2 separate regions of the Homo sapiens genome follow, and region 1 is linked to region 2. The links are contacts of gene promoters, found by promoter capture Hi-C in blood cells and fetal thymus (Javierre and others, 2016). All regions are on one chromosome and are shown on one strand. Each heading gives the region's core, a stretch centred on a gene start or on the middle of the fragment in contact. The rest is flanking DNA. Distances are from core to core; before and after follow the strand shown. Region 1 has its middle 3.6 kb from the start of NMD3. Region 2 holds the start of PDCD10 (programmed cell death 10).

What was found. Contacts are between HindIII fragments. The CHiCAGO score rates a contact against its expected background, and 5 or more counts as called.
Region 1: a fragment that was not itself captured here is called in contact with the fragment with the promoter of PDCD10 in region 2 in 1 of 17 cell types (non-activated CD4 T cells); the score reaches 5.3 in non-activated CD4 T cells.

The regions. Positions count from the first base shown.
Region 1 is chr3:161,214,304-161,221,150 of GRCh38, forward strand. It overlaps a transcript of NMD3 not described here. Among named protein-coding and RNA genes, the nearest start is that of NMD3, 3.6 kb to the right of the region's middle. RefSeq lists enhancers at 6,581-6,690, 6,750-6,847. The HindIII fragment of the contact is 5,309 bases long and covers 2,616-6,847 here.
Region 2 is chr3:167,731,177-167,737,514 of GRCh38, forward strand. It overlaps PDCD10 (programmed cell death 10), which reads right to left and starts at 3,716. Exons shown (of 9, transcript NM_007217.4): 1 at 3,486-3,716; 2 at 3,038-3,174. SERPINI1 (serpin family I member 1) reads left to right here and starts at 4,545. Exons shown (of 9, transcript NM_001122752.2): 1 at 4,545-4,647. RefSeq lists a silencer at 3,348-3,477 and an enhancer at 3,528-3,967. The HindIII fragment of the contact is 6,113 bases long and covers 1-4,820 here.

The DNA of each region.
Region 1 (6,847 bases), core at 4,020-6,519, 6.5 Mb before region 2:
TGTATGCTTGACTTCTATATACATTCTTCAGTGGAATGTTGTCATATCTTTTGCCAATTTTCTAATTGGGCTGCTTGATTTTCTGTTAAATTTTGAGAGTTCTTTATATCTATTTTATTAATAGATACTAGTTCTTTGTTGAATACAGTTTGCACATATTTCTGCTACTCTTTGGCTTGTCTTTTTATCTTCTTAACAGGGCCTTTAACAGAGCAAAAGTTTTTAATTTTAATGAACTCCAACTTGTCAGTTTTTCTTTTGTGGATCTTGTTTCCGAAGTCAGGGCTTAGCACTCTTTGCCTAGTTCTAGATTGTAAAAATGTTCTTTTTTTTTTCTAAAAGTTTTCTAGTTTTACATTTTGCTTTAAATTCATGATCCATTTTGAGTTAATTTTTATCTAAGATGTGAGACTTAGGTTGAAGTTTATTATTTTCCCTCTGTATGTCCACTGGCTATAGTTGAAAAGGCTATCTTTACTGACTTGGCTTGGCAGTTTTGTCAAAATCCATTGAACACTGGTTTGGAGGGTCTTTTTCTGGGTTCCCTATTCTCTTCCACTGATGTGTGTCTATCCTTTCACCAATTCCAAACAATCTTGATTACTGTAGTCCCATAATAAGTCTTAAAACTAAGTTGAATAATTTTTCCCACTTTTTTTTAAAATTGTTTTAGGTGTTCTAGTTCCATTACTTTCCCATATAAATTTTAGAATAATCTTCTGTACATTTACAAAAAACTCTTGCTAGAATTTTGATAGGAATTGCATTAAAATGACATCAAATTTAGGAGAATTGACATCTGTGATGGTTGATATTAGGTATGAACTTGATTGGATGGAAGGATGTGTAGATGGCTGGTGAAGTATTGCTTCTGGGTGTGTCTGTGAGGGTGTTGTCAGAAGAGACTGACATTTGAGTCAGTGGCCTGGGAGAGGGGAAGAACAACCTTCAGAGTGGGTAGGAACCATGCAATCTGCTGCCAGTGGCTGGAACATAGACAGAAGAAGAGGGATGAGTAGCTCGCTTGCTGAGTCTGCTTGGGCTCTCTCTCTCCCGCTGTGTGGTGCTGGACACTTGACTTCCTCTCCTCCTGCCCTTGGACATCAGACTCAACCTTCGGACTCTGAGACTTGCATAACAAGTGTCATTATAATCCTCCAGCATGAATGTCAACACAGACCTTAACTCTGATAAGAAACATGTACAATCTATTCTCTCTAAAGCCTGCTACTTGGACGCCTCATCTCCCTGGTAAAACCTAGGTCTCCACAACACCTTATTGTAATCCAGATATTCCTTTCTATTGATAAAAACTTTTTCAACCAATTGCCAATCAGAATATGTTTAAATCTACCTATGACCTGGAACCCCCCGCCACTGCCACCACCCTGCTCCCCACGACCTCTCTTCAAGTTGTCCTGCCTTACCAAATGGAACCAATGTAAATCTCACATGTGTTGATTGATGTATTATGTTTTTCTAAAATGTATAAAAGCAAGCTGTTCACCTTGTGAACATGTCGTCAGGACTTCCTGAGGCTGTGTCATAGGTGCGTCCTTAACCTTGGCAAAATAAACTTTCTAAATTGAGACTTGTCTCAGATACTTTTTGGTTTAAAACTTACTGATTGAGAATCCAAAATCTGAAAACCCCAAATCTGAAATGCTTCAATGAGCATTTCCTTTGAGTGTCATGTTAGTGTTCAAAAAATTTCAGATTTTGAAGCATATTGGATTTTGGATTTTTGGATTATGGATTAGGGATACTCAACCTATACATAGTGTTATTCTCCCCCATCACTAACATGTAAAAGTTAGAGGTTGTTCAGTGATTACATCTTTTAAAAATTATAATAAAATATTATAAATTCAGTCTCATATTTTGGAATTTGTAATAATGGAGAAATTGTACAAGTATTATTATCGTAATTTTATTTCATCTTTTCTATTGTATTTGCTGGGATTCTATGTTAACATATTATTTGTACTTTTAAAACTTTTTGTTGAAGGAAATACACAGGCAGAAATAGGCACAGATTATAATGTATAGCTGAATGAATCTGTTACAGTGGTAATTAGGCAAGAGCTGGACAGGAGAGGGCTTCCCCTACCCACCAGGAATGTCAGGCAACCATCAGGTGATGGTCTGGCAGTTGTCACATCACCTTTCTAAAAATAATAATTGGTTGCAGGCACCAGGGAGAGGCAATTTCCCAATGGATAAAAACACTTGAAATTGGTAATCAACAACTTCCAATAAAATCTCAGGAATTGGGCGAGTGGGCTTGAGTATGTACATTGAAAGGTAAAATGGCAGACTTTAACTGGTTATATGACCTTCCGGGAGCATTCCACCGGAAAAGGGAAAAAAGCCTCAGGTGGCCATGCATACAACTTCTTAAACACACTGCACCTGCTCATCTCTCAAGCGCAAGGACAGCATCATGCATGTGGGCTGCCCACTCTAAGGGAAGAATCATGAAAAAAGGAATGCGGAGACACCCGAAATATGCCAACATATAAAACCCCAAGTCAAAAGGTCAAACACCACATTTGACCTCCACAGTTCTTGCCTGGGTCTCTTCCAAGTGTACTTTCCTTTCTTTCCTGCTCTAAAGCTTTAAAATAAACTTCTACTCCTGCTCTGAAACTTGCTTCAGTCTCTTTTTCTGCCTTATGCCCCTCAGTCAAATTCTTTCTGCCGAGAAGGCAAGAATTGAGGTTGCTGCAGACCTGTATCTATTTGCCACCAGTAACTCAGATATTCACTACCCCTAACAAATTTTACAAAGTGAACACTAAATTTTTATTTCATTTACTAAATGATGTCTTTATATTGTAAATTAAGGGTGAAGCAGAATCGCAGGTGTAATGTTTCAAATTTGATACATTGGCTGTTTCAGATACAAACCATTTCTTATTGCTTCACTCAATTCCTATTAAGGATCTTCACCAGAGAATAACAGGGCCTACAATCATTATAGTATTTTGCAGTTTACTAAACACTTCTATGTACCTTATCTCAGTCAATTCTCATAACAATTTTCTGAGGTAGGGATTATTACATAGTTTTAGAAAGGAGGAAAGGAGCTTTTAGAAAGGCTCAGAGTGGTAAAGCAAATCCTTAGGGTCACAGAATCTATCAGTCACAAATCTCAGACTTGAAACAAGGACTTTAGAGTCCATGTCTTCCACCGACTCTCCTAGGCATACTGCTTTCTACATGGCGCATGCTGTGGCTGTGAGGTACTGCCCAGATCCCCCTCAAGGAATGAAGTACTTATCCCACAACAGCAGGGAGTGCTGCTGGCAGAAAGCCCTCAGTTTCATCTACTTCTGGGACTGCCTTGGCTGAAGAGAGAAATATCACCCAATGCTATGTCCTTTTCCTGGGACAGTCACATCCAATGACTCATCGATGAGCAAAGTCCCCCTCGGGAAAACTCAGAATGGTCATTTCAGCTTCAGAGCTTCCCACAGGGTTAGCTGAGGCTTCCACTAGACTGCACGGCAGCACAGCTCCCTTCTGCCCAATGGTGCTTCTGCCCTTCTATTCCACAGGTGTTGATTCTAAGAGGATACCCTAATACACCTCCCCTGCACTAATCTCCAATATTATCTTGATATCCCCAAATGTGCTATCACATTTGATAGTGTGAAAAATATCACAGTATGCATTTGAAAGTTCTGTGTAGAATTTCATTATTTCATTGATTAGCAGATTTTTTTTTTTTTTTTTGAGACAGGGTCTCCCTTTTTCACCCAGGCTGGAGTGCAGTAGTGCAATCTTGGCTCACTGTAGCCTTGACCTCCTAAGCTCAAGTGATCCTTCTGCCTCAGTGTCCTGAGTAGCTACGACTACAGGTGCATACCACCATGCCTGGCTAATTTGATTGTTTTATATTTATTTTTTATTTTTTAGAGGTGGGGGTCTCAACATGTTGTCCAGGATAACCTGGCCTCAGTCGATCCTCCCACCTTGGCCATCCAAAGTGTTGGGATTACAGGCATGAGCCATTATGTTCGGCCAGGAATTCCATTTTAATACCATGGTTAAACACATAGAAATGAAGTTTGTAAACATATACTAAGGCTTAGATTTGAATACAGATAGATATCCTCAGTGCAAGGACTATGGGAGCTGAAAATAATCTCACCTATTATTTTCAGGTGAGATTTGAGGTTAAATAAAAAGTGCAAAGTGAGTTTCCCTCTGGTATTGTTTGCCAATATTATCCCACTCAGTCCAATCCTAGCAAGCTCATTCAGGCTCATGAGAGAGGTAGTTGAAATCAAGAACTTACTTTTGACATCTGGAAATCTTAGTGGTGGGGGCTGGCAGATGAAGAGAGAAATATAGGTGCCTTCTACTACAGAAGTATTTCATTTATCAAAAGGTTGTGGATAGGAATAGACGGCCTCAGCCTCAGAAGGGGAGGTAGGCTGCTATGGTGAGGGTCTGGGTTCAGAAACAAACTGTATTTCACGTCCCAGTTCTATCAATTATTTGCTATAGGACTTTCAACAAATTGCCTAATCTAATCCAGCCTCATCTGTAATATGTAAGGTCCATGAGGGCAGGGACCATATCTGTGCTGTTATTATCATACATCAAGTGCTTAAGAAGCCTGGTATTCAGAGCCAAATCAAATAATTGTAGAAGGAATGTGTTAAAAAATGAGCAGCCTTTGACATTTAGAAGCTGGTCTGGTACTTGCAGCTATGCCATAATATTTTCCTATTAGACAGAAATAATTTCACAGAATACTAAACTCAGACAAGATTACTCTGAAACCATGATAAAATGAGGCAAAGAAGGTCACTTCATAATTTTGTCTAAGCACAGACCAAAATAAGTTCACTATGCCACCCACAAAATACCAAACATTCCCTTTCTTCACCAAAATGAGTGACTGCTACTTCTTTGCTAATTGCAGCTTTATCCTCCTGCTTCCCTTTGTGTAAATAAGATTTACTGAGACATCCAATCACAGAATTGCCCCTGCTTTCTGACAGCATCCAATCTATAGAAAAACCTCTATTTTCTTAGGGCCTCCCCGAAAACACCCGCCCAAAGCCCCAATCCTATGATAGGTTTGTTCTAAACACCCTCTTACTGAGATACCCAAAGGGTATCCATGGTGAGTGTCTGGGCTCACTTCGAAGAGTAATAAATAGACAGAAGCTGCTTAACTACAGCTGTGTTCCTAGTGGTGTTTGGTTGAGGGCATAGGCAGTGTGAATAGAAAAAACGGGGAGAAAAACACTGTCTCTTCAGAGTTGTGGTGGGTATTAAATGGATAATTAATTTACCAATATATATTGAGGGTCTGTTTTGTGTCAGCTGCTGTGCTAGGTGCACCAAGAAGAACAAGACCCGAATTGCTCTCCAGGGTTTTGAAACTGCTGGGCATGCAGAGTAGAAAATTTATGATCCAATTCAAAGCACTATTATAGAGGCATATACCTCGTATAAAGGTGTTATCATAGAACCATATATACAGAAGGAGCATGTAACTCCTCTGGCCCTTAGGGACCGAAGGAGTCAGAAAAGAGAGGATGTATGGTGGACAGGATAATGGCTCTGCAAAGATGTCCTATTCCCTGAAATCTGTGAATATATTACCTAACATGGCAAACGAACTTTACAGATGTGATTAAATTTCTTGAGATGGAGAGATTATTCTGGATTATTTGGTTGGGCCCAGTGAAATCACAAGTGTCCTTGTAAGAGGGGTGCGGGGGGGTGGGGGTGAGAAAAGGAGACTCTGACTGCAAAATGATGTGGGACCACAAGCCAAGGAATGTGGGCAGCGTGTAGAAGTTGGAAAGGGCCAGGGAATGGATTTTCTCCTGGAGCCTCCAGAGTCAGCCCTCACCATCTATTTAGACCTGTAGCTTCCAGAACTGGAAGAGAACAAATTTGTGTTTTCTAAGCCAACTAAATCAGTGATAATTTGTTAGAGCAGCACTAGGAAACTAATTCAGGCTTAATCTTTAGTGCCGAGTCCCGGGTAGAAGCAAAGGAAGACTATTTTCTGTGAGGACCTGCCAGTTGGTCTTCATGGCTTGCGAGTACGTGTGCTTGGGAGTAGGACAGGATATGTGGAGATCAGATCCTGAAAGGTCTTCTTTCCACACAAAGAAACTGGAAATAATGCTGAAGGTAATCAGAGGCCACTGAAGGATTAAAAGCAGGGGAGTGTGACAAAATCAGAACTGCATTTCAGAAGGATGAATTGAAGTCTACAAGTAGAGACAACAGACGAGAGGCTACTTAAGTATTCTGGGCAAGAAATGATGAGAGGCTGTCTCTGATCACCCTCTACAAAACGCCTTTGCTTATTCCTTGAAATTTGGGATGAGAGGATTTAGAAAAAAAAATGGTTGTACTCTTCAAATATTTGAAAGGCTGTCATGAGACAGATTAGACACGGTCTGTGCTGCTCCAAGTTTGAGGGATAAATCAGTCATAAGAAGATATTAAATGCACTATCCGGAAGCACATAATTAATAATTTGTCTAAAAATCGCATAGACTTCTTCACAGATAATTATGCTTTACATTTCATTCTTTCAACAAATAATCATTTGAGCAGTTAGCATGTGGCAGGCATCAGGCCTGTATATGACGGTGAACCAAACAGACAAAAGGCACTGCCCTGGATGGAGTTTCTTTGCATAAGGTACCGTTTACAGATAACTTTTATATAAAATAATCATTTAATCAAGAAGCAAGCTCACAGTCGGGATAGCTGAAAAGAGACTAATATACGGGCGAGGTTGGTTTGGAGTAAACCCTGGCCTGGGAAAATCGAGACGATAACTGAAAAGCAGTCACTGACGGCA
Region 2 (6,338 bases), core at 2,466-4,965:
CTAGAGGAAATAAAGGTTTTTAGGGCAAAACGAGACAACATTAGGGAAGAAGAGTCCATTAGAAGTTTCTTCCATGTCTATATTTTGTTATAATGAATATCGCTTGCAAAAAGCAGGACAGTGATAAGTCTCTAAAATGCTGTGTTACACAGCAATTCTGCGGCAAATGAAAGTGATTCCTTTATCATTTCCACTTAGAAAATTAATCCTGATTTCAGAGACCTCCAAAAAGAACAAACATTTTTCCACAATTTATATTAAAATTCTGTCAATGACTCCTTTACATATAACCTAAATTGCCTAAGCATTATGGCTCATTTGAAAGTTCTTATATACTTCAATCCAGAAAGCATATCCGCTTTATTCATTTCTCTATTTCTGTCCCCAGAGAAGTGCTGGAAGCACTGTGCATGAATACACTCCTTCATTCATTCAGCAAATATTTACTGAACCCTTACAATGTGCCAGGTACTGCGTAAGTAGTGGGGTAAAACATGACAAATGAGAGGGCCCTGCTCAGGGAGCTTATAGTCCAGTGAGGAGACAGTATTTGTCAAATAAATACAGAAATAATTAAGTTTCTATTATGATGATGCCACAAAGGAGTACAGAGTATGGTGAATACATGGCGGAAACCTATTCTGATTTTGGGAAGGCGGGCAAGGCTCCCCTGACGAACGATATTTAAATTGAGACGTGAAAACTGACTACCAGGTGGCCACATTTAGGTAGGCGTGAGGGGAACAGTCCAAGGAGTGAGACGGAATATGTAAAGGCCACCAAGTCAGGAAGCAGCTTATGTATGTAGTAACTGAAAGGCATGGTAAATGAGAAAGGCTGGAGATAAGGACGGAGAGCTGGATAGGAGAAGAGATAAATTTTTAGTGTTAAACAGAGTAAGAAGGTAATAGTATTTGAATATTTAAGTCACGTTAAGTCTTCTTCTCATGTAAATAATCTAAGGGAACTAAGTCTTTACTCCAAAATATTAAAGATCTGTAGTCAGAAGATCTCGATTTTGTCTTACTCCCACCAGTTACAAGTCACTTAACCAACTTGAGCCTCTTCATTCTCTTTGTAAATATTATCTTACCTACTCAGACTACAATAATAAACAGCCCCTATTCTTACAGACCTTACATCCTTAAGAGAAACAGACAGATGTATAATATACGGAAGACATCCCAAGTCCTCTAAGAAATAATGTCCAAAAGCTGACATAAGGCTCCTGCAAAGTTCAAAATGAGAAGAAATGCAGACACTGGTGAGCTGCAAACCACGTGTACACATAACTCTGTGAACTCCTAATTATCCAACGTGCAGAGATCTAAAGTGACAACAGTACCGCAGCATGTGACTGAAAGATGATAACAACAATACAAACATTAATCCACCATCCGAATAGAAGAAATATCAAAACTATAATTGGCCTCAGAGATAAAGAGTAGTGGCAGAAATGAACCAAGAACAAAATCTAAAACACACTGAACAAATGCATTACATTAACTAATTTCCAAAATTTCCTCATAGTTCAAAAGCTCTTTCCATAATGACAGAGTTACATGCCAAAGGTTAGAACTTATTTCATACCTCCTTCAACAAAAGGCAAATACCTACATTGTCATCTAGAAAACAGATTAATATTCTTGCTTTACCATCACTGACTCATGTTCAGTTTACGGTCTACTTACATCACTGCACCTTTCTTAATCCAGCACAAAGTCAGTTATCACCACATAATTTTCCATTTGTTTAACTGGGTCTTCCTTGTCTGTGTACTACATTACTTATGGTACATTATTCCTGATTTTACTTCATTCTATAGTATCATACTTTTTCTATTTTAAAAATCGTATTAATTTCCAGACCATCTTAATTTCAACCATCAGGGAAGATAATACCTCTGTTCCGAAAAAATGTTTTTCCATTAAAAAGTGAAGCACATTGTTGATAATATAGTAACTGCAGAGTACATTCAAAATTCAGCATAGTCTGATGATCAACTTATATATAAAACAGTAAGCTATGATTTATTACATGTTAAGAGTAAGCCATGATTTATTACATGCTAACCTGTATGGATATAAAGTTATCACAAATAAATTCTGCCATCAATGAACATACTCTAACAATTCTATTAAAAACTTATCCAATAATAATAGTCATGAGCTATAACTGGTCATAATCATTATAGAGGATAAGACTTGCATAAAGGCACTACTTTCTGCAAGATATGAACTATACGTGTACTGTTTTTTCATTCTTCAATGTAAAGTAAGAATGAATTGAAAGTCACAGTTGATGCTAAGAAAAATAAAAATATGCAAGAGCCCAATTTTATTATTTGCAGACACACACACAAATACAGCCCAGAGTCAAGAAAATGGGGGAAAAGTAAAGTCTCAAAAAAGACGATGTTACCTCCAAGAAATGCAAAATACCTTCTTTTCTAGTAATGGGCACACTAAACTCTCCTAACGCTACATTATTTGAAAAAAGTGTAGTTTTGTGAAAGAATTCCAATCCCACTATTATCAGTTTTACAAAATGAGAGTAAAAACAGTCCTAAGGTAGAAAAAGAAAAGAATATTCTTCTAAGGATGGGATATATTGTTTAACTGTTGTTCTCCCATCCTATTACCTACCCGTAAAAATGAACTGTGAGAGTAGAGTCTATCATTTAATACACCCCTAAAAAAAGGGGAAAAATCTGTAAAAGTTGAAACTGGCCATTTTTATTTTTTCCAAAAGGATCTTTCCTTTATTGAGGAATTTCACTCCGGTTCAAGAAACAACTTTTTATCTCACAATGGCTTCTTAGATATACTATATAAAATACATTTACTTTGTAACTTCCTCCACCCTTTTCAAAAAGCACAACCAACGTCCCTACTCTAAAGCTGGACTCGAACCGAACTAGATTCAGAAAGTCTGTCCCTACGTGTGTGACCTTGGGCACGTCATATAATCCCTCGGTTTCCTCATCAGCATCCCAAAATGAAAGCGCTCTGAAAGCAGTAAAGGAGTAAAAACATACCTTAGGTATGACACCTAAGAGGGTCAAGTCTTTCTGTTTAAGGCAAAATTATCTCCTTAGAGGGCCACATCATTAAACTGGAACTGAATCCGTAGACCCCAACATTTGTCTCTTCCTTCTTCCAGTGCTCCTCTTCCCTCAAAGGGCATAACCCGAGTCACCCCCAAGAGCCGACTCCCAAGCACCCTTTCCTTCCTCCTCCCTTTTCTCTTACTTACAAAGCAGGGGGAAAACAGCAGCCTCACCTCTCGGTCCGAAGCCACACCTTCAAAGGACCCCACCCCAGGCACATCCGCCCTGTCCCCTCTCCCGGGGCACCAGGGGCCAACCTCGCCCTTCCCCTCCCGCCCCCACCTAGAGGAGACTTCCTGGAGGCGTTCGGGCCCAAGCCGGCAGGCGGCATTTACAAACCCGCTTTACGCCACTCGCGTAGGGTAACCTCGCTTACGCCCGTAGGGCCCCGCTCTCAGCCCCGTCCGCTCCGCCTGCCAGAACCAAGCCCAAGTGCCTCAGCCATGGCCCCTGCGTGACCCTAGACCTCTTCTGCTCGGTGCAGAGCTACGGGGACTGGGACAGAACAGCTACACCTTACCAGCAACTGAGGCACTGACTTCACTTCCCACCTTGCAGCCCTCTTCAACTCCCGGATCAATTCACTCCGGCGACGCCGGAAGGACCCAAGAGGAACCAGGCGTTGTCCGGAATCCTGCCCAGCCGGAGTCGTGCAGAGGCTTATGGGGACTCGTAGTCCCGCTCGCCGGCGTTGTCCGCAATTCCTGCAATCGGAAGACTACACTTCCCGGCAGGCCATGCGGGGGATCCTGAGGCGATGGGTGGTGACACTTCTAGCCAATAGTAGGAGAATTCCCTGCCTTTGCGGGAGGAGGTGAGATGAAGAGAGATGGTGCACGGAAAGGAGAGGAAGGGCGGGGCAAGCCCTCACCTGCGCCAATCAGGGTGCGGAGTAGGCCCCGCAGGCGCCTCACCCATTGAGGGGGCGGGCTGACAGAGCAGAGGAAGGAAGGGGGTGAGGGGCCTGTGGTGGGGATCCTGGGGCTGTCGGGCTGAGTATGCCGTGTGGGTGGAGAGGAAGCCTCGGGGAAATCGCCCAGGTGAAGGGAGGGCTTGGTGTGGGGACTTGCACTGGGCAGAGGGGCAGCTTCCCTGAGAGCAGCTAAGCCCCAGGCACACCGGGCATCCGGACACACAGGTCGGGGAAGGATAGGCTGAGCCGGGGCTCCCAGCAGAGACGCCTGGGTGGGGCAGGAGGCCGCTCCAGGTGTGAGCCACAGAGGAGGGGAGAGGGACCCCCACGGGAGTGGAAGTGGCAGAGCAGCTGCAGAAGTGCAGGGAGCGGAAAGGTACCAGGGCAGCTGCTTTCCGCTGCCTCCGGTCCGGGCAGCTGCAGAAACAGCAGGGGGAGGAGCAACAGCTGCCAAATTCGCCAACTAGAGGAGGGAGAGGCGGAGCTTGGGTCCCTGTAGAAGCCAGAGGCGCAGTCTGGACTGTAGTTTCCCGGGAGAGACGAAAGCAGGAACGAGAGCGGAGCGGAGCACAGTCCGCCGAGCACAAGCTCCAGCATCCCGTCAGGGGTTGCAGGTGTGTGGGAGGTAAGCGTGGGTCCTTCTTCGGGGCGTCTGCACTGCCCTGGAGAAAACGTCTTCCAATAGGAATTACATCAAGACACAGCTAAAAGAGTCCGCGTTGGGTTAGGAAACCGGTGCAAAACCTCTCGGGTGAAAGATTTACATTTTTCGACTTTAAGGGCAAAAAAGCAAAAGGAAGCTTGACTCTGGGTATAAAGGGCGTGGTTAGTGTTTTTGGTTTGAGTTGCACCAGTAAAACTGTTCTGGGAGATCTGAAGATTGAGAAAAATCCTGCTAATTGAGGACGAGGTGGATGTTATCTGGTGGATGTTATAGGTGCGTAGCCTATAAAAAGCAAAAATTTTGCTATTGATATAGAATAACTTCTGAACTATTTCACTAGGAAAATAACTTTGCATTCTTCTTCAGTGTCTACCCTTTACGTTGGTTTATCAGATTGTCCTGCTACCGACCTGTTATCCAGGGTGGTTATTTTGCAGTTTCCTAGAATTGCAAGAAATCCGTATTAAAGAAGCAAGTGCAGGCAGGAATAGTCAGGATAGGATGGGCTCTGACTTAATCTATCAAAAGTATAACTTTTGCCAGCAATAATGTAAAAATGAATTTTAATGAATGGATAGTTAGCTTTCTTCCCAGTGGCTCTGGAATATTGGAACAAAGACCTGGATTCAGCCTACAATGGAAACATATGGTGTACCTCACTGCTGCTCGTTAGTTTCTCATTTGTGTCCGATAATATGTGTACATTTTAAAAACGAGTACATGGAAAGCTGTGTGGGAATCTTTTCTCTGGGTAGAGAGTATGTGCTGAAGGACTACCCTTAATATGTGTTATGATAGTGGGTTCAGTTTAAAACACATGTAGTGTCATAAAATAATAGTTTATTCTCGGTATTAAACTATATGTGCATTCAAAGCAACGTTAATTGTAATACCTATGGATGGAAATAAGTTGTAATGCTGGGTAAAGATGAAAGTCTCACCTACCTTTGTGTAATTATGACAAAATTACAGCCTTTTATTTTTAGAGAAGTAGTAAGAAGCTATTTTCCTAGTTCATTTTCATTTTGTTACAGAGGTTCCCAGATTACATGGCTTTTAATCATAGTAGCATATTGCAGCAAATTTTGCTCTGAAATGCTTTCATTGTGACAGTTGCATATTTCAGAGTCTGTCTCAATACTTTATGTTTTTTTTTAATAACCAGGGTCAATAAAATGGAGTAATTGTCTTGTTTTCTCCTATTTCTATGCTTTCCTGAGTTCTCGGGATTTTAAATTTTATTTTTGTAATGCATCCCAAATTTCTTTTTGAAAAGAAATGGCTCAAATGAATTCTCTTCCCAGATTAAAGTTCAGTCCTACTGAGTGCTACTACCGATAAGCCTAAGTGACTTTTCAGTGTGTATACTCTTCCCTCCCACACTCTCACATACCATAGAAATATATAGACAGATAGATCATAGAAAAACAGCTGCTTTTTAATTACCCCTAAGCAAATCAGCTAAGTATCAAAAACAGCAAAGAGCTTAGAAGAAAGAAAAAGCAACAGTAGCTGCTAAACTTAACCACTATAAGGATCAGGTTTTATCTTTGCTACAGCACTGGAGAATCTATTAATTCACATAGCTGATATGGCCCTGTGAAAATGATTTTGGGGGTAAAAAAAAAAGTGGGTATTAGGGTGACACATGG